Regions from separate parts of the Homo sapiens genome. Here regions 2, 3, 4, 5 and 6 are each linked to region 1. Evidence: promoter capture Hi-C in 16 types of primary human blood cells and fetal thymus (Javierre and others, 2016). All regions are on one chromosome and are shown on one strand. Each heading gives the region's core, a stretch centred on a gene start or on the middle of the fragment in contact. The rest is flanking DNA. Distances are from core to core; before and after follow the strand shown.

The links. Contacts are between HindIII fragments. The CHiCAGO score rates a contact against its expected background, and 5 or more counts as called.
Region 2: a fragment that was not itself captured here is called in contact with the fragment with the promoter of LRP2BP in region 1 in 1 of 17 cell types (endothelial precursors); the score reaches 5.2 in endothelial precursors.
Region 3: a contact is called between a fragment that was not itself captured here and the fragment with the promoter of LRP2BP in region 1, in 1 of 17 cell types (endothelial precursors). The highest score is 6.0, in endothelial precursors.
Region 4: a fragment that was not itself captured here is called in contact with the fragment with the promoter of LRP2BP in region 1 in 1 of 17 cell types (total B cells); the score reaches 6.1 in total B cells.
Region 5: a contact is called between a fragment that was not itself captured here and the fragment with the promoter of LRP2BP in region 1, in 1 of 17 cell types (activated CD4 T cells). The highest score is 5.1, in activated CD4 T cells.
Region 6: a contact is called between a fragment that was not itself captured here and the fragment with the promoter of LRP2BP in region 1, in 3 of 17 cell types (naive CD4 T cells, total CD4 T cells and naive B cells). The highest score is 6.9, in naive CD4 T cells.

Annotation. Positions count from the first base shown.
Region 1 is chr4:185,394,591-185,397,347 of GRCh38, reverse strand. LRP2BP (LRP2 binding protein) reads left to right here and starts at 1,424. Exons shown (of 9, transcript NM_001377440.1): 1 at 1,424-2,569. It overlaps ANKRD37 (ankyrin repeat domain 37), which reads right to left and starts at 507. Exons shown (of 5, transcript NM_181726.4): 1 at 398-507; 2 at 46-198. The coding sequence starts at 424. RefSeq lists silencers at 522-891, 1,112-1,301 and an enhancer at 922-991. The HindIII fragment of the contact is 1,591 bases long and covers 352-1,942 here.
Region 2 is chr4:185,160,267-185,163,023 of GRCh38, reverse strand. It overlaps CFAP97 (cilia and flagella associated protein 97), which reads left to right. Exons shown (of 5, transcript NM_020827.3): 5 at 99-2,757. The coding sequence ends at 226. Among named protein-coding and RNA genes, the nearest start is that of SLC25A4, 18 kb to the right of the region's middle. The HindIII fragment of the contact is 985 bases long and covers 907-1,891 here.
Region 3 is chr4:185,598,824-185,601,580 of GRCh38, reverse strand. All of the region lies in intron 24 of SORBS2 (sorbin and SH3 domain containing 2), which reads left to right. Among named protein-coding and RNA genes, the nearest start is that of SORBS2-AS1, 12 kb to the right of the region's middle. The HindIII fragment of the contact is 2,502 bases long and covers 110-2,611 here.
Region 4 is chr4:185,219,720-185,222,476 of GRCh38, reverse strand. The region is part of intron 1 of SNX25 (sorting nexin 25); the gene reads right to left. Among named protein-coding and RNA genes, the nearest start is that of SNX25, 12 kb to the right of the region's middle. The HindIII fragment of the contact is 1,659 bases long and covers 604-2,262 here.
Region 5 is chr4:185,245,720-185,248,476 of GRCh38, reverse strand. SNX25 (sorting nexin 25) reads right to left here. Exons shown (of 19, transcript NM_001378034.2): 2 at 1,099-1,183. Among named protein-coding and RNA genes, the nearest start is that of SNX25, 38 kb to the right of the region's middle. The HindIII fragment of the contact is 1,467 bases long and covers 674-2,140 here.
Region 6 is chr4:185,263,340-185,266,096 of GRCh38, reverse strand. It overlaps SNX25 (sorting nexin 25), which reads right to left. Exons shown (of 19, transcript NM_001378034.2): 4 at 1,487-1,659. Among named protein-coding and RNA genes, the nearest start is that of SNX25, 55 kb to the right of the region's middle. RefSeq lists an enhancer at 1-219. The HindIII fragment of the contact is 3,072 bases long and covers 1-2,757 here.

The DNA.
Region 1 (2,757 bases), core at 175-2,674:
TGGGTTGGAGGGGACGGCTGTACACAGCAACAGTTACCTAGTTACCTGCTGGTTGAGGTCAGCGCCCGTTTGCAGCTGCCAGAGAAGAAAGCAAGCAAGGCCGCTTCCTGCGGCTAAGTGGACAGGCGACTGCTTGCAGGGATCCGGGGGTGCGTTGACCGAGGCCCCTGTCTCCAGCAAATGCTTCAGACCATCCACCTGCAGGAAGAGAACAGATCCAGCACCCTTCCCACCTTTGTCCAGTCCCGCGCCCCTCCGGGCTGGAAACCTCCCCGCCCTTCACAACCAGCTCTGACCAGGCAGCGCCCAGTGGTCCGTCCCCGCATTAACGAGAAGACGAATCTAGAAGCTTGAGCCTGCAGGACAAAAGCTCGGGCTCTGTGAGCCCGAATCTCACCTCGGGGTTGCAATCCAGCAACAGCATTTCCCGCCTAAGGCAGATGACAAGAGTCCTTGGAAGTGCAGAGAGGTGAGACACTCGCCGCACCCCGACAGGTAAGAATGCGCAGGCTGGCCCTAGCACGGGAGAATTTAAAGACCGCTGGGACTTCCGGGCCGGCCCTTGGCAGCCGCGCCCCAGCTCCGGTTACGCCCGAGCAGCCTAATCCTCAACGACCCGGACCCTGTCCAGCCCCGCCACGGCCGCACGTACACAAACACTGGCACGTGGAGCCCGGCGCCGGGGGCAGGGGGAGGGGGCGGGCGCGCGAGGCCATCCGCCGATTGGCCAGCTGTGGATGCGTCAGGCCCTCCCACCTCGGGGCGGGGCCCGCGGCGGCCCCACGGAGCCTCAGCGCGCGTGCGCAGGGTAAGTCAGTGGGCGTGAGAGGACTGGAGTAGGAGCGGGTGGGGCTCCGCGGCCGCCATGAGGCGCGCTGAGTTTGACACGTCTCCCGGTAGTGCGCCCGCCCTTTAATCCTTACGGAGAAGCGGGAGTTTCGGCTGCAGGTTTTGGCTCTGCCGGCGCGCACGTAACCAGGAAACTGGGAGCCACGCGCAGCTCCCCGTCGACGCCGCCTTCAGAAGCCGCTGTGCACTGCGCTGCTGCCGCCTCGGCGCCGGGGAACGCAAGTTCCTTTACCTCGCGCGCAGTCGCCCGCCTCCCAACCCGGGAGGTGAAGGCGGGGACGGCGAGCGCGAACTCGAGGGGATGGCTGTCCCGAGTGGCAACGGCCGAGCCCGGCCCGCGCAGGGACCCTTGTGGAGGGGCCCTCGGGGAGAGGCCGCAGCACGCTGGGGTCGTCACGCTGGTCCACGCCGGGCTCTCCTCCCGGGAGAGCGGACCCGGCCGCGTGCGATTCGGACCCGCGGGGCTGGTGAAGCCGCTGTCCGGCCCCGCGGGTGCTGTCGGGCGTGCGTCACTGCTTTTTGTAGAACATGACCTGACTTCCGATGGCAGCTACTGACGTCAGAGCTGCTCCCTAGACTCTCCCTAAGCGTCTTTCCAGAAGGATCTGCTTAGAAACCAAAGCTCCAGCCGAGTGTTTCTTTTCCCCTACATTTTTAGTGATTCCCTTCTGTTGATGCCTTTGAAAGCTCGGAGAAATAAATACGTTTATTGTTATGCTGTTAGAAAACAAGTTCATGCTTGTCCTCTAAAGATAAGTGGTCTTTTCATTCTACTTTTTGTTTTGTAGTAAGAGCCATAAAATTTGCAATCGCAAGTTTATGTTGTTATACTTAGTTACCCAAGGGGTAGTTTTAAGCATTTTTATTCATATGAATATTTGAATATAAATGTGTGTTCAAATATATAGAATCGTTCTTATATTCCACATTTTTAATATTTAAACTATTCACAATATCTTTTAATGATGTTTAAAGAACGGCAGTGTAGAGATACTGTTGTCAGATTTGTGAGGTGAGCACACGTTGATATTGCCAGTTTCGCTTTTGTTTATCAATTCAATAAGCACTGCTTTTTAAAACACGTGTTGAAGCTTCAGGTTTGCACAGAAGTTCATTTTCAGGAATTCCTAACTAATAAAGGGTATCAGACACGTTCTTACAGTTTTGAACATAAATACTGCAGTTAGCATATGTAGTGGGATATTTGTGTGGTGAAAGTGCCTCCATATTTCATATCTTTTCTTTGAAACAAGATTCTGTTCAGTATGCATTAAGTGGTAGTTATTTTTTAACTTCCTGTTACATACGTAAATTTCATAAGGAAAGGAAATTTGGGGAGTCGTTACAGCTTTTCTCCCTTTAATCACAGCGTACCTGTCCATTGCTCACATTGTTTTCAGAAAAAAAAGTTGTATCTCAGCTGGATATCTGACTTGACTTTAGTAATGGGCCTAGAAACTATAAACTGAACAAAGCTTATAATGCACAAAAACAGGATAAGTACATTTGGGGGACAATATCTTACTGGCAAGTAACTGGAGTTTCACCAGGCGTGTAGCAGGTGGGATCAATTTTCTAAAACGGAAGATGATCTAAGATGCATATTTTATAGGCGTTCTCCTAAGCAGTGCTAATTCTACATGTTTTAATTGCTGGTAGATGCGTTTCCAGAACGAGGATGCCATTTACAGCGAGTGTTAAAAAAAACGTTGGATGATGAGTAAGTGACCGAATAGATGAGAGATGTGTGGGCTGAATCTTGAGTAGTAAGAGTTTGCTAAGGAGTCCAGGAAGGGAAGAGTATTTCTAAGAAGTGTAAAATATCTTCCAGTATTGAGAGCACTATATGTAGTTCAGTCTGGGGGCAGTGTGTGATACACATGCAGCTGTGATGTGAAATAGAGAAAG
Region 2 (2,757 bases), core at 150-2,649, 230 kb after region 1:
ATTAGACTATTAGACACACATAGAATGTGGAAGAAAAACTAGTCTGGACTTCAAGTGAGGAGAAGTTTCTCAGATATTTCTTCTTTTTATATTTTCAGGAGCTTCCAGGACATCCAGTGCTACGAGTGGTCTCAGTTGTAGGAGTGAGCGATCAGCGGTTGACCCCTCCAGTGGCCACCCTCGAAGAAGACCTAAACCCCCTAATGTCCGTACAGCTTGGTTATAAAACACTTTTTTACTTTAAACATTGTTCACACAACTTTTCTTGAAGTGCTCGTGCATATTCCTATAATTCTCTGTGTAAACATCTAGAATACCGTTTTAGCAATTGAAGGTGTACAACAGTGAGTTGTAATGTATTGTTATTCAGTGCAAAATTATTGTCAAAAAACGATTTAATGTAAAAAGTGTTTCCTGAGGATGTATTTATATGAGATGTATGTGTTCTTAATAGAGAAATAGTGGTATGCATGTGTATCTTCTAATTATTCAGTTGTCATGCTGTCAAAATAGTAGTGATAGTATCATTGCATGTCGTACCCAAGATGGTCACTATAGTTTTCAATTTGTGTTATTTTCATTTCTTTATAAGTGTTATACCATGAGCTCAGCTCCTAAATTTGGCTGGCTTTGTTTTTCATTTGCTTTAGAACTTATGTGGCATGACATAGCTCGATTGTATGAGATTTAACACTTATTATGAAACAAATCTTGAAATTTGTTTTCACTGGTAGAGCTGATCTAGATTTGATGAGCAGATTGAGAGACGCTTCTATTGGAGCAATTCTTGTAATTCACCAGAGGTATCTAGTTGTTGTATAAGTGCACTGAGTTAGATCTTAAAAGTTTGATCAATCATTCCAAACCATTTCAAATATGAATATTAGAAAGTTCAACTTAGAAGCTTCCCTTTTGTGTTTTCATGCATTCAGGTAAAGTCCTATTTATGACTCTTAGAAATGAGGTAGGTTTTAGAGCTAGTCTTCTAACTCGTGAATAGTTTAAGGACCACATCAGTTGCAAACCAAGTATTTGTTGAATCAGTAAAATGGCACTATCAGCATGAAGAGCCGAGAAGCAGATCCTGAGGTGTGTCGGACAGTGTTTTAGGTAATTCAGTATTTATTATGTTATTAGAGAAGACTTAGCGTAAGAAAGAAATGCTTTAGAAATTCCAGCAAGTATTTATAAGGCCTGAAAAAACTAAAATTTGAACAAAAAGGGAAATAAATCACACATTTGTTGAGGCTGCTGCTTTAAGTATTAGCTAATTTTCTTGTTTTGGTTTACTTTGATTTATTTGATTGAACCCTGGAAGTATTATTTTTACCAGTCCCACATTTAAAGACCTAGTAATCTTGATGGAATTGGTAATGGCAGATAGGGTTTAATGTTGTTGACTTTTCAAATTAGAATTTTTTTTCTATGAAACTTAGGCTTTTATATAACAAAGTATGTTATCTCATTGTTACCGCCGTTTTTCACTACTAGCCTTTTCAGTATGCCCTTAAAATGTATTGGAAAGGTTCCATGTTAAATGACAAATATCTTTTTCAGTATGAATTTTTGATCTGTAGCCACAATAAGATTTTCATTTTTCAGTGCTCAGGCTCTGTAGCATGTATGCTGAATGCTTTTTTCCTTAGCACCTTTAACAGTAAGGTGTTACTGCATTTTACAAAACATCAATTCAACATGTCTTGGATTTAGTTTGTATTCATAGATTTTGTTAAGGATCAGGCCTGTGAACATGGGCACAGTGAGGTTAAATAATTCACCTGGCCACAACCTGGCTTTGAGGTTCTGCTTTTGGGGGCCATAATTTTCATTCAATGTTATTCGATGCTCTGTTCTGGTGAACAAGTTACTATACCTGCTGTGTATATAAGCTTGAGCTATACTAAACCAAGGCTTTATTTTCTTTTGTTTTTTAACTTACTGTACTTTTACTGTTTATATAACCTATATTTCAAGAGAGAGAAGATAATGCTGAATTTTAAATTTAGCATTTGAACATCTGTCCAATAGTGAATTAATCAGTTTTTTTAAAATTGATTTTTAAGTTGTTCCAGAAAAAAATATATATATATGTTTTATATATATAATCTTTTTATATATATAAAAAATCTTTTTTATAAATTTTATTTTAAAAATCTTTTAAAAAAGATTTTTATATATATATAAAGATTATATATTTATATATAGTCTTTTCTGTTCATAATGGCATTAGTCTCTGAGTACATTTTATATTATCTTTGTTGCCACATGTCAGGATACAACACAATAGTTTTATAAATAACAACTGTACTTTGATTTTAGGTACTAATTTAATGCTTTAGTTTTTACTACTTTGAAAGGGGAGGTTCATCTAAGTATTACTGATAACAGGGATCCAACTTAAAGTAAAAGTTGGAAAGGGCAAGAGTCTTTTAAGCGGAACTTCAATTCTGTTGTCATGGTTACTTATATATAATGAATATAAATAGACAAATAGGACTTGGAAAATGTGGTATATTCTAAGTCAAGATGCTATGAAGTTGTTATAGTTTAAGGGACATTCTTAAGAAGGAATTACTTAAGTACATTACTCTTCTCATTTCAAGGACATGAAAAAGTAAAGGATGGTCTGGCACTATTTTATTTTATTTTTTTTTTGACTTGTACTGAATATATGTACTTTGAAGATTTACATCTATAACTAGAAAGTATGCTAATCCGAGGTCTGGTTATTAGGCCAGATTCTTGTTCAGTTATTTT
Region 3 (2,757 bases), core at 111-2,610, 200 kb before region 1:
TTACACATAAATGAAGGGTGTCCGGGACTGGTATGGTGGCCCCGCAGTCATCAGAGAACCCAGGAGTTTCCATCTGATGTGGGCTCATCGCCATCCTCAGAGAGAAGCTTCCGCTATGGGTCCCAGGTGGCAGCTCGAGTAGTTCCCTTCTCACACGAACCAGCAGGAAGGAGAAAAGATGGGAGATTACACCTTCTCCCTTGAAGGCCAAGTCCCAGAATTGCATATATCCCCTCGGTCTCAGCTTATGACATGAGTACATCCAGCTACAAGTCAGGAAATGTGGTCTTTATCCAGAATGGCCATGTGCCTACCCAACAGCCTGGCCCCATTACTGAGGACCAAGAAGAGAATGGATGTGGAGAGCATCAAGCATCGTCTGCCACGACACTTAAGCAACGGTGCCAAACACATTTCATCCCGAGAGGCTGGGGATTTGAGGTCAATCATTACTGAGAATTAGGAAAACTTTTCTAAATGAGAGTTGAGAAAACCACATGCTTTTATTTAAGCGTGTTTTATTCCTCCGGAAGTTCTCTTAAGCCAGATCAAATACCAGGCAGTACACTGCCAGATCCTGTCCGCTATTGGAAGGAAAATAAAACCTACACAAAAGAAGGTCAGCTTACTCACTGTCATATGAAAGATCTTACTCTGAAAATAAAAAAAAAACACCAAAACAGTCCAGCCCACAGGTTGGCACTTCAGTAGTTCATCAAATTTCACCATGTTTCCCCCCAAAAAGGCCTTATTTTCTTCTTATGTGTTAGAAAATTTTGCCTCCAACAAATGTCTGATACAGTCCATGAAATTTGACAGGCATTAAGCCAAATTCTCCTCTATCTCACCTTGCATCCCTTCAATAAGATGAAAAAGCAGGGCAGGTTTGAGAGCATCTTGAACCCAATTGCTAAGCATTCTATGAAAGACATAACATTTCTTGGCCGGGCGCAGTGGCTGACACCTGTAATCCCAGCACTTTGGGAGCCCGAGGCAGGCAGATCACTTGAGGTCAGGAGTTCAAGACCAGCCTGACCAACATGGTGAAATCCTGTCTCTACTAAAAATACAAAAATTAGCTGGGCCTGGTGGCGGGTGCCTGTGATCCCAGCTACTCGGGAGGCTGAGACAAGAGAATCGCTCGAACCCGGGAGATGGAGGTTGCAGTGAGCCGAGACTGTGCCATTGCACTCCAGCCTGGGCGACAGAGCCAGACTCCGTCTCAAAAAAATAAAAGACAAAAAAAGATATAACATTTCTTATATGTTCTTGGCCTCTTCCCTATGCCAGCTTTCCTCTGTGAACCTTTTTCTGCTGTGCCTGTGGGTGCCATGTTAAGATGGCAGCTGGTGCCTGTGGTGTGGAAACTGTATAAGCAGCTGGAGAAGCTGTGGACCCTCCCTGCCCTGCTGTTGTGCAGGAGTTTGGCATGCTGTGTGTGCATGGAAAAAGCCAGCCAGGAAAGCTCCTCCTGAAGTCTGTGTGACGAAGATGAGAGCTAACTAACTTCTTGTACATTTTCCAGGCTGACGTAAAAAGCGAGATATGTGTCCTGGGTAAGCCTCCTCGTAGCCCAGTGATGTCTAGGAGATTCTGCGGCTCACCTGTCAGAGGGCTCAGCGGTTCCCACAGGGTAGGGTCAGCATGCCCCCACTTTGTGGCAGGCATCCTGGCCACCTCCCCCGCCCCCAGGGCTGGCTCTTCCTTAGTTGTCTTTGCTGTGAACTGGCCTTAAAGTGAGGCTGGAGACACCCTGAAGATGAAGCGACCACCTGGTGATGTGCTTCCCTTTTAGGTGTGTGTGAGGTTTCCAAACTCCACAAAGACATGGTCAGATTCTCTACTCTACAAATAAGAGTGTCGTGTGTTTTGTGGTCTACATCTGTCTCATGGTTCTACACTAAATCACTGCTTTCTAGTCACCGTTTCTCCTGCAAAGAAAAAACTGTTGCCAAGCATCTACAGTGCCGAACTCACACACTTCCGGTCATGTTTGCTTCTGTGTCATTCAATTTGGATTTTTTTTAAATCCATGATTCTTGTCTAACATCTTCTGTTTCTCTGGTGATGTGCACTACATCCTCTCAGTCTGCCTTTTGTCCCCATACTGCTGTCTGGATTCTATCCACTTCCTATTTCTTGCCAGCTCTGATTGAACTTAAAGGTCAAATTACTTTCCCTTAGCTACTTCGTTCCATAGTATCTACAGTACTTTAAAATACATGGACTCTAAATGGTACTTACTATCAATTCTAAGGAATGCAGCCAAGGAGTTTGGAAATTTTCATCTGGACATAAGTCAGGATTCCTTTCCTCATTTCTGTTTTAATGGACCCGGATTCAACCTTGACTGGCCTATCGCATGGCCGTGCTTCTGCATTTCAAGAAGTTCTCAAGGGCTTGATTTCACAGAAGTCTTCATTTTTTATTTCTAAAGAAAAGTCGATATTATTCTGCATTCATGCCACTTTGTGCTTTTTGCATTGCATAGGAAGACCTCATTTTGTTGCTGAGGCAGAGCTTTGTGTTGCCATAGAGACAGAAATGCCAATTTGTAGAGACTCTTAGACTCCCCCGAATGGCCTTCCAGAGCCAAAGCAAAACATAAGCTTCTTTTGCAGTGAAAAGGACCCATCTATAACCCTCCTGTGGGTCCACGAGATGGTATGCTTGTGTTCCCCTTAAGGTTTTTTTTTTATTTTTTGCCTGATTTTTACATTATGTATTTGTATGTCAGATTACACGTGTGTTTGTGTG
Region 4 (2,757 bases), core at 184-2,683, 170 kb after region 1:
GGGTATAGGGTGCTGAATACCTACCGCGAGGGAGGGGTATAGGGCGCTGAATACCTACCGAGAGGGAGGGGTATAGGGCGCTGTATACCTACCGTGAGGGAGGGGTATATGGCACTGAATACCTGCCATGAAGGAGGGTTATATGGTGCTGTATACCTACAGTGAACGAGGAGTATATGGTGCTGTATACCTACCGCGAAGGAGGGGTATATGGTGCTGTATACCTACCGCGAAGGAGGGGTATATGGCTCTGAATACCTGCCATGAAGGAGGGTTATATGGAGCTGAATACCTACCATGAAGGAGGGGTATATGGTGCTGTATACCTACAGTGAATGGGGGGTATATGGTGCTATATATCTGCTATATATCTACCGTGAAGGAGGGGTATATGGCGCTATATACCTACCATGAAGGAGGGGTATATGGTGCTGTATACCTACAGTGAACGAGGGATATATGGTGCTATATATCTACCATGAAGGAGGGGTATATGGCGCTATATTCCTACCGTGAAGGAGGGGTATATGGTGCTATATATCTACAGTGAAGGAGAAGTATATGGTGCTATAAGAATATGTAAGTTGAAAGATAGGAAAAGCTTCCCTGCAAAACTGATGACTGTGGTATAAAGAAAGAGAAGTTAACTAGATAAAGGGGGCAGCAGCATGCTCAAGGCAGGAGAACAATATATAAAGTCCCTACAGACAGAAAAAGCCCGGCACTATGAGGACTGAGGGTGGAGCATGAGGAGTGAGGGTAATTATGACTGGAGATTAGGCTAGAGAGCTAGGAAGAGCAGGAAGTTACTGAAAGATTTTAAACAAACATGCTGCTGAAGAGGAATTTGATTAGGCTTGCATTTTCAAAAGAATCAATGGAAGAGGGAGCCAACATGGAGGCAGAGACCAATTGAAAGGTTGTTACAGTCATCTAGGTGGGACATGACGGTAGCTAAGACCAAGCAGGAAAGACTGAAAGAAGTAGATGAATGCAAGATACTCAAGAAATAAGGGCAGGCACCCCTGTAATCCAACATTCTGGGAGGCCACGGTGGGAGGATGGCTTGAGTCCAGGAGTTTGAGACCTGCGTGGGCAACACAGAGAGACTCCATCTCTAGAAAAAACTTTTTTAATTAGCCCGGGTCAGGCACAGTGGCTCACACCTGTAATTCCAGCACTTTGGGAGGCCAAAGCAGATTAATGGCTTGAGCTCAGGAGTTCAAGACCAGGCTGGGCAACATGGTGAAACCCTGTCTCTACAAAAAATACAAAAATTAGTTGAGTGCGGTGGCATGCATCCTTAGACCCAGCTACTTGGGAGGCTGAAGTGGGAGGAAGGCTTGAGCCCAGGAAGTGGAGGTTGCGGTGAGCCAAGATCATGCCACTGCACTCCAGCCCGGGCAACAGAGCCAGATCCTGTCTCAGAAAAAAAAAAAAAAATTAGCTGGGTGTGGTGGCACCCACCTGTAGTCCCAGCCATTGGCGGGGGAGTGAGGCATGGAGGATCACAAGAGCCCAGGAGGCTGATGCTGCGGTGAGCCATGATTGTGCCACTGCACTTCAGCCTAGGCAACAGAGTGACACCCTGTCTCAAAAATAAATAAATAAATAAAATTAACAAAAGAGGTAAAAGGACAGGACTTGATGGAGTGCCTATGGGGTATAAGGAGAAGATGTCAAGAAGGACTCAGTTAGGCCGGGCGCAGTGGCTCACGCCTGTAATCCCAGCACTTTGGGAGGCCGAGGTGGGCGGATCACAAGGTCAGGAGATCGAGACCATCCTGGCTAACATGGTGAAACCCCGTCTCTACTAAAAATACAAAAATTTAGCCAGGCGTGGTGGTGGGCACCCTTATCCCAGCTACTTGGGAGGCTGAGGCAGGAGAATTGCTTGAACCTGGCAGGCAGAGGTTGTAGTAAGCCGCGATCGCACACTGCACCCCAGCCTGGGTGACAGAGCGAGACTCCATCTCAAAAAAAAAAAAAAAAGGGACTCAGTTGTGGGACCTGACTTTCAGAGGTGCTATTCACTGACACAGAAACAAGAGGAACAAGCATTAGGAGATATACCTAATGCTAAATGACGAGTTAATGGGTGCAGCACACCAACATGGCACATGTATACATATGTAACAAACCTGCACATTGTGCACAAGTACCCTAAAACTTAAAGTATAATACTAATAAAATTTAAAGAAAAAAAAAGAAACAAGAGGAACAGAGACAGACACTGGTCATAAGATGTCACAGACTCAAGCTTCGGGTACCACTGGGACTGCCAGGTGGAAATGTCAAGTTAAGCAGTTGAATAAATAAGTCTGAGGCCCAAAACTAGATCTGAACCTCAGGAATAAATCTCTTAAGTCCTCAATATAGACAGGGATGATTATTGTAGGAGGCCAAAGTTGAGACTGCCCTAAAGTAACAGAATGAAGAATGAGACCTCAAGAATGACCCAAATGCAAATCTGGGAAACATCCAACTTTCTGAGCTATCTAGCGGTTGCAGTTTCAGAAAAAAAGAAAGGTTCAGTGAAATGGAAAAAAATCAGAAAAAAAAAAAAAAGATTAACAACTCTGCTTCAGGAAAAACACATGGAAATATCTGGAACAGTTAAGATGTTAATTTCATGTATAACAAATTGGCAGCCTGCAAGCAGCCCTCGGGTATATATTTTTATGAGTTGATTTACATAAGAGGAAGAGGCCTTGTGGGAGGTGGCTTATGTGTAGCAGCTCAAGGTTGGGGACTAGA
Region 5 (2,757 bases), core at 158-2,657, 150 kb after region 1:
TTTCACCATGTTGCCCAGGCTGGACTCCTGGGCTCAAGCAATTCACCCACCTCGGTCTCCCAAAATGCTAGGATTACAGGCATGAGCCACCACATCCAGCCAATCCTGTACTCTAAAAATCATGATTATGAGATTATGAATAATTGCCAAATTTTAAATCCAGTAAGTTTTATAAGTCATACTTTAAAGATTATGAATAATTGCCAAATTTTAAATCCAGTAAGTTTTATAAGTTGTACCTTAACTACTAATAGAAGTATTTTTTAAAATTTAATTATGTCCCCAAAGGTCTAAAATTCTGTGAATCCACACAATTTCAAACTGTTTCTGTACTGATACAGTACTCTCATTTTCAGATTTTGATATGGTGATTTTTGTGAACTATGATGAGTAAAACACATATATGTACATATCACTTGTTCAGCTCTCTTAACTTCACGTCTAACATCATATATTCACCTGATAAACTCATGACTTGTTTTCTGAAAATTAACTGAAACTGTCAATGTTTTTAGAAATTTGATATTTAAAATCTTTCTTAAACCTTAATTTGATGTTCAAAATATATTTTTTAAAATTTTAATATTTAAAAGTACACTTATTTATTCCCACTTCCAGACATAGCCATATTTTACCTTCCACCACCCTGCTTCTGCCTTCTTCAAGACAAGCTTCATTGTAAACTCACTCCTCTGAAAGACTACTATCACTTAGTTGGGTTTAACTGGTTTATCTATGAGTGAGCCTGAGTCTATTTATCCCAACATAGCTTCTCTAGGTTATAGTTAGAAGAAAAAAAAAATTCCTAAAACCCATTTTAGAAAAGAGAGAACAGATCTGTGCTTCATATGATGGAACTAGCTCTACATGGCTGGCTAGTTTCACATGATCTGGAAATTCCTACTCAACAAACGTGTAAATCCCTTACATGCAAACAAAACATGGATGTATTTAGTCATCAAATACAAACTCATGAAGAAAAAATTCCTAACACTACATGCAGACAAGAAGAATAAATTTGCTGGAGATTATTATTTTCCTCTTAGAACATAATGAATTGCTTTACATGGTAATTATATACTCTCATTTAATCCTTACCTTCTTTCAGAGCTTTATCCATATTATGAGAAATTACTACCCTTCTAGACTGAGCTGACTCATGTGAGTTTCCATACACAGGACTCTGAAATGAAAGGAAAAAAATACAAAGCAGATTACTGAATGAATAAATCACATAAAAAAAAAAAATCAAAGGTATGAAATGCCATCTAAACAAGCATTAAGATAAGGCTTAACGAATAACAGAAGTTTTTCCACAAAAGTAAATAAATGCTTAAGGTTAAAATTTTTTGGAAAAAAAATTAAGGAAGGATTTTCCCTACCAGATATCAAAACAGTATAATGACTGTATAGGAATAAATAAATCAACACAATGGTAGGGAGTAAACAAACCGATGTAGCTATATATGTGCAAATTAAGAACATAATTTTCTTAAGAAGAATTTGAAATTAATGATAAAAACCACACACTACTCAGCAAATGATGTTGGAATAATTTGATATTCACATGGGAATAAAAGGTTACGGTCTTACATTCTGTATATAAATAACTCCAAAAAGATTAAACAGCTAAACATGTTTTAAGCTAAAAAAGAATTAAGAAGAAATAAGGGAGCAGCTTTTTATAATCTTGGAATGGAAAAGGCTTCTCTAAAATAAAACACAAAATCCAAATGGTATGAAGGGGGAAAAAATGACAAATCTGACTACCTAAAATACAAAATTCTTGTTTCACAAAAGATGATGCAATCGAAATGTAAATGATAGACTAGGAGACAGTATCTGTAACAATGTAACAAAGAACTATCATTAAATATACAGAGACTCCAAAAATAAGAAAATAACTCAAAAGAAAACCAAAGAAGTTGAAAGGGAAATCATAAAAGATAAACAAATGACCAATAAATGTATGACAAAAAAATGCAATCCCCTTTTTTATTAGAGGAATGCAAATTAGAGCAATGAGATACCATCAGACTGCCAAAGCAGCAGAAAGGACATACCTATCTAATGTTCACCAGGACACAGGGAAATGGTTGTTTTCATATATTGTTGGGGGAAATATCTATTTCTACAAGCTTTTAAGAAGGCAACTGAGCCACATATATCAAAATTTTAAAGGACTTTTTTGAGTCTCACATGTTGCCCAGGCTGGAGTGCTGTGGTGCTCACTGCAACCACTCAGCTCACTGCAACCTCCGCCTCCCAGGTTCAAGTGATTCTCCTGCCTCAGCCTCCAGAGTAGCTGGGACTTCAGGCCCACGACACCACACCCAGCTAATTTTTTATTTCTAGTAGAGATGGGTTTTTCCCATGTTGGCCAGGCTGGTCTCGAACTCCTGACCTCATGTGATCACCTGCCTCGGCCTCCCAAAGTGCTGGGATTACAGGCGTGAGCCACCGCACCCGGCCTAAAGGACTTTCTATTCTGCAATGCCACTCCTAGGACTCTGCCCAATGGAAATCCAAAAAAGTACATGTATAAGGAATTTTACTGCTATATTAATTATAGGGGCAAAAAAAATTGGAAGTAACGCAAGTTTTTATATATACGTCAATAGTCAAAGAGTTAAATAAATTATTGGTATACCATTAAAAAGAATGCTTTAGGGATACATATATACCTTCATGGAAAGTTTTCTATGATGGGAAAATGTTTGCAAGCACAGACACTTTTAAAAGTGGTTTCCTCTAGGC
Region 6 (2,757 bases), core at 98-2,597, 130 kb after region 1:
AGATAATCACTGCATCTCAAATGCAATGCTATTTGTCTGAGACTGAGATAGGGAAAGTTTCTCTTATCCTGACTAAGCATTTCCCTGGATATAGTTAACTTTTTTCTAGTAATCACATTATATTGTGGTACAGTTCCTTTTTACATATTCCAAGTTCACAAAATTATGTACAGTCATGCGCCACATAATGACATTTTGGTCAACAACAGACTGACTATATGACAGTGGCCCCCATAAGATTATAATGAAGCTGAAAATTTTCTACCATTTAATGAGGTCAAGCTAGTGTAAAGAAACCTATTGCACTGTCAATAGTATAAAAATACAGCACATACAATTATGTACAGTGCATACTTGATAATGATGATAAATGTTATTACAAAAGAGTCAAAAAGTTTAAAAAAATTAAAAGTTCATAAAGTAAAAAAAGTTATAGTAAGCTAAGGTTAATTTATTGAAGAAAATAAAATTTTAAATAAATGTAGTGTAGCCTAAGCGTACACTGTTTATGAAGTCTGCAGTGGTGCACAGTCATGTCCTAGGCCTTCACAGTCACTCCCCACTCACTCAGAGCAACATCCAGTCCTGCAAGCTCCATTCATGGTAAGTGTCCTATATAGGTGTACTGTTGTTTATCTTTTATACCATATTTTTACTGTACCTTTTCTATACTTAGATACACAAATATCATTGTGTTACTATTGCCTACAGTATTCAGTACAGTAATATGGTATAAGGTTTATAGTCTAGGAGCAATAGGTTACACCATATTGCCCACATGTGTAGTGGGCTATCCCATGTAGGTGTGTAAGTACACTCTATGATATTTGCACAATGACATTGTCTAATGACACATTTCTTCGGACACATCCCTGTTGTTAAGCAATGCATTACTGTATACGCATTATCAACAAATCATATAGCAAAGATATTTTAAGTAAATATGCTAATCAGAATTTGACTGTGGTCAGGGATGGTTGCTCACACCTGTAATCTCAGCACTTTGGGAGGCCTAAGTGGGAGGATCACTTGAACCCAGGAGTTCAAGACTTGCCTGGGCAACATAGTAAGACCCCCATCTCTATTTAAAGAAAAAAAAAAGAATTTGAACACACACACACACGTAATATATAAACATACATACTATGGATATTATATAGATATTATACACACATACACATACTTTCATTAATGTATATATTATTGGCCTAGATAACTCAAAAGCTATCCCAAATGAATGCTTCCCTGTGAAGAGCATAAAAACTTGTTTTCTATGTCAAAACATGCAACTTAATGGACTGTGCATTTGGCGATATGTCATATTAAAAATTTAAGTTTATCCTGAATGGCCAAATAGTTTTAGAGACATATAAACAAGATTTTGAAAATACTTCAAATCCCATATGTTCAACAGTAAACAAGGTCTGCATGTAGCACATTAGTTTGCACACTTATTGAATTAGTGAAATCAACTGTATAAGTCTACCTTTTGTTGTGAGAATTTCTGCAAGCATTATACGTAAGCTGAGAGACTGCACATCCTTTGAGGGGAGGAGACAAAACACCAGAACCCGAGAACACGTTTGTAGAAATCTTACTTCATCATCTGAGTTCCTCAAGCATGCGTGCAACACAAAAGGTCTTGGCTGTTCTTCATGTCTAAATAAAGAGAGTGAAAAAGAAGGAAAGAAGTTTCTAGAAACAATTCAATTATGTACTATTAGGTAAAAAATATTTCAAATGAGAAACACATTGGTTATAGTAACTGCCATCTCCTAAATAATCAAATTTCCTCAACCATCAACTCATCTGGAAAACTTTTGCTAGAATAAATGCAAATGCATGGCCTTTTTTGGATTTCAAATGAAATCATAACAACGAACTTCAGTAGCATCAAAGGGTCTATATAACTCCAAAATCACAGCAACAATCTAAAAAGGTACGAGTATTTATTTAGTAATTTTTAAGTCTTCTAGATGTTTTCTTAAATATGACCTGCAGCTTCATTTTTCAAAAAAACCTAACAAAGCATAAACCAGGGTTGCCAGCCTGCTTTCTGACTGGGAGATAATAGGATAAAAAGTCTACAGGTATTTCTAGTGAGCTAGAGGGTCTATAAACTCGACGTTATCTAATTTGATGGCAAATTGCCTTCTGTGAGGCTCCAAAGTATTTTTCAACCAGTCTTGACAACCTTGGTTGTGCACTTCCCTGTACTGACTCCATCCCAGGAACATTAATTTGGAGGATCTGAGTGAAGAGGACTGGAAAACAGAACTTTCTATACTTCCCTTCCCATAGTATCTTGATAGTGATTCAAGAAAGCCTGGGATGCTGCGTTTTCTAATATGTTCTAGATGAGGAGGCAAAGTATAAGAGATTTTTACAGTAACTAGTAGCTAACAATGAGAAAAAACATGAAGCAGAGGGAGAGAAACATACTAGGTACTGCACAGGAAATGAAACTAGTGCATATTAGTACCTTTAGGACCCATGCCTCTCAGGTGTTAACTGAAATTTATTTTGCACTGGAGACTGAAACTAGTTTCTAGAGTGTATAACGCTAGAAAAGAAAGGTTTCCTCTGTCTTGTACAACCTGAAGGAATTCTATCCTAATGTGTAAAGCCAGCAACATGAAAGGAAATTTTTAGAATAAGCCTTTATGCATATACTGATACGCTGACTTTTTAAAAATGGCATCTTCAATTATTTTAAACTCTAGCTTTGCTGCCAGCTAGGTTGATATTTCAATATAG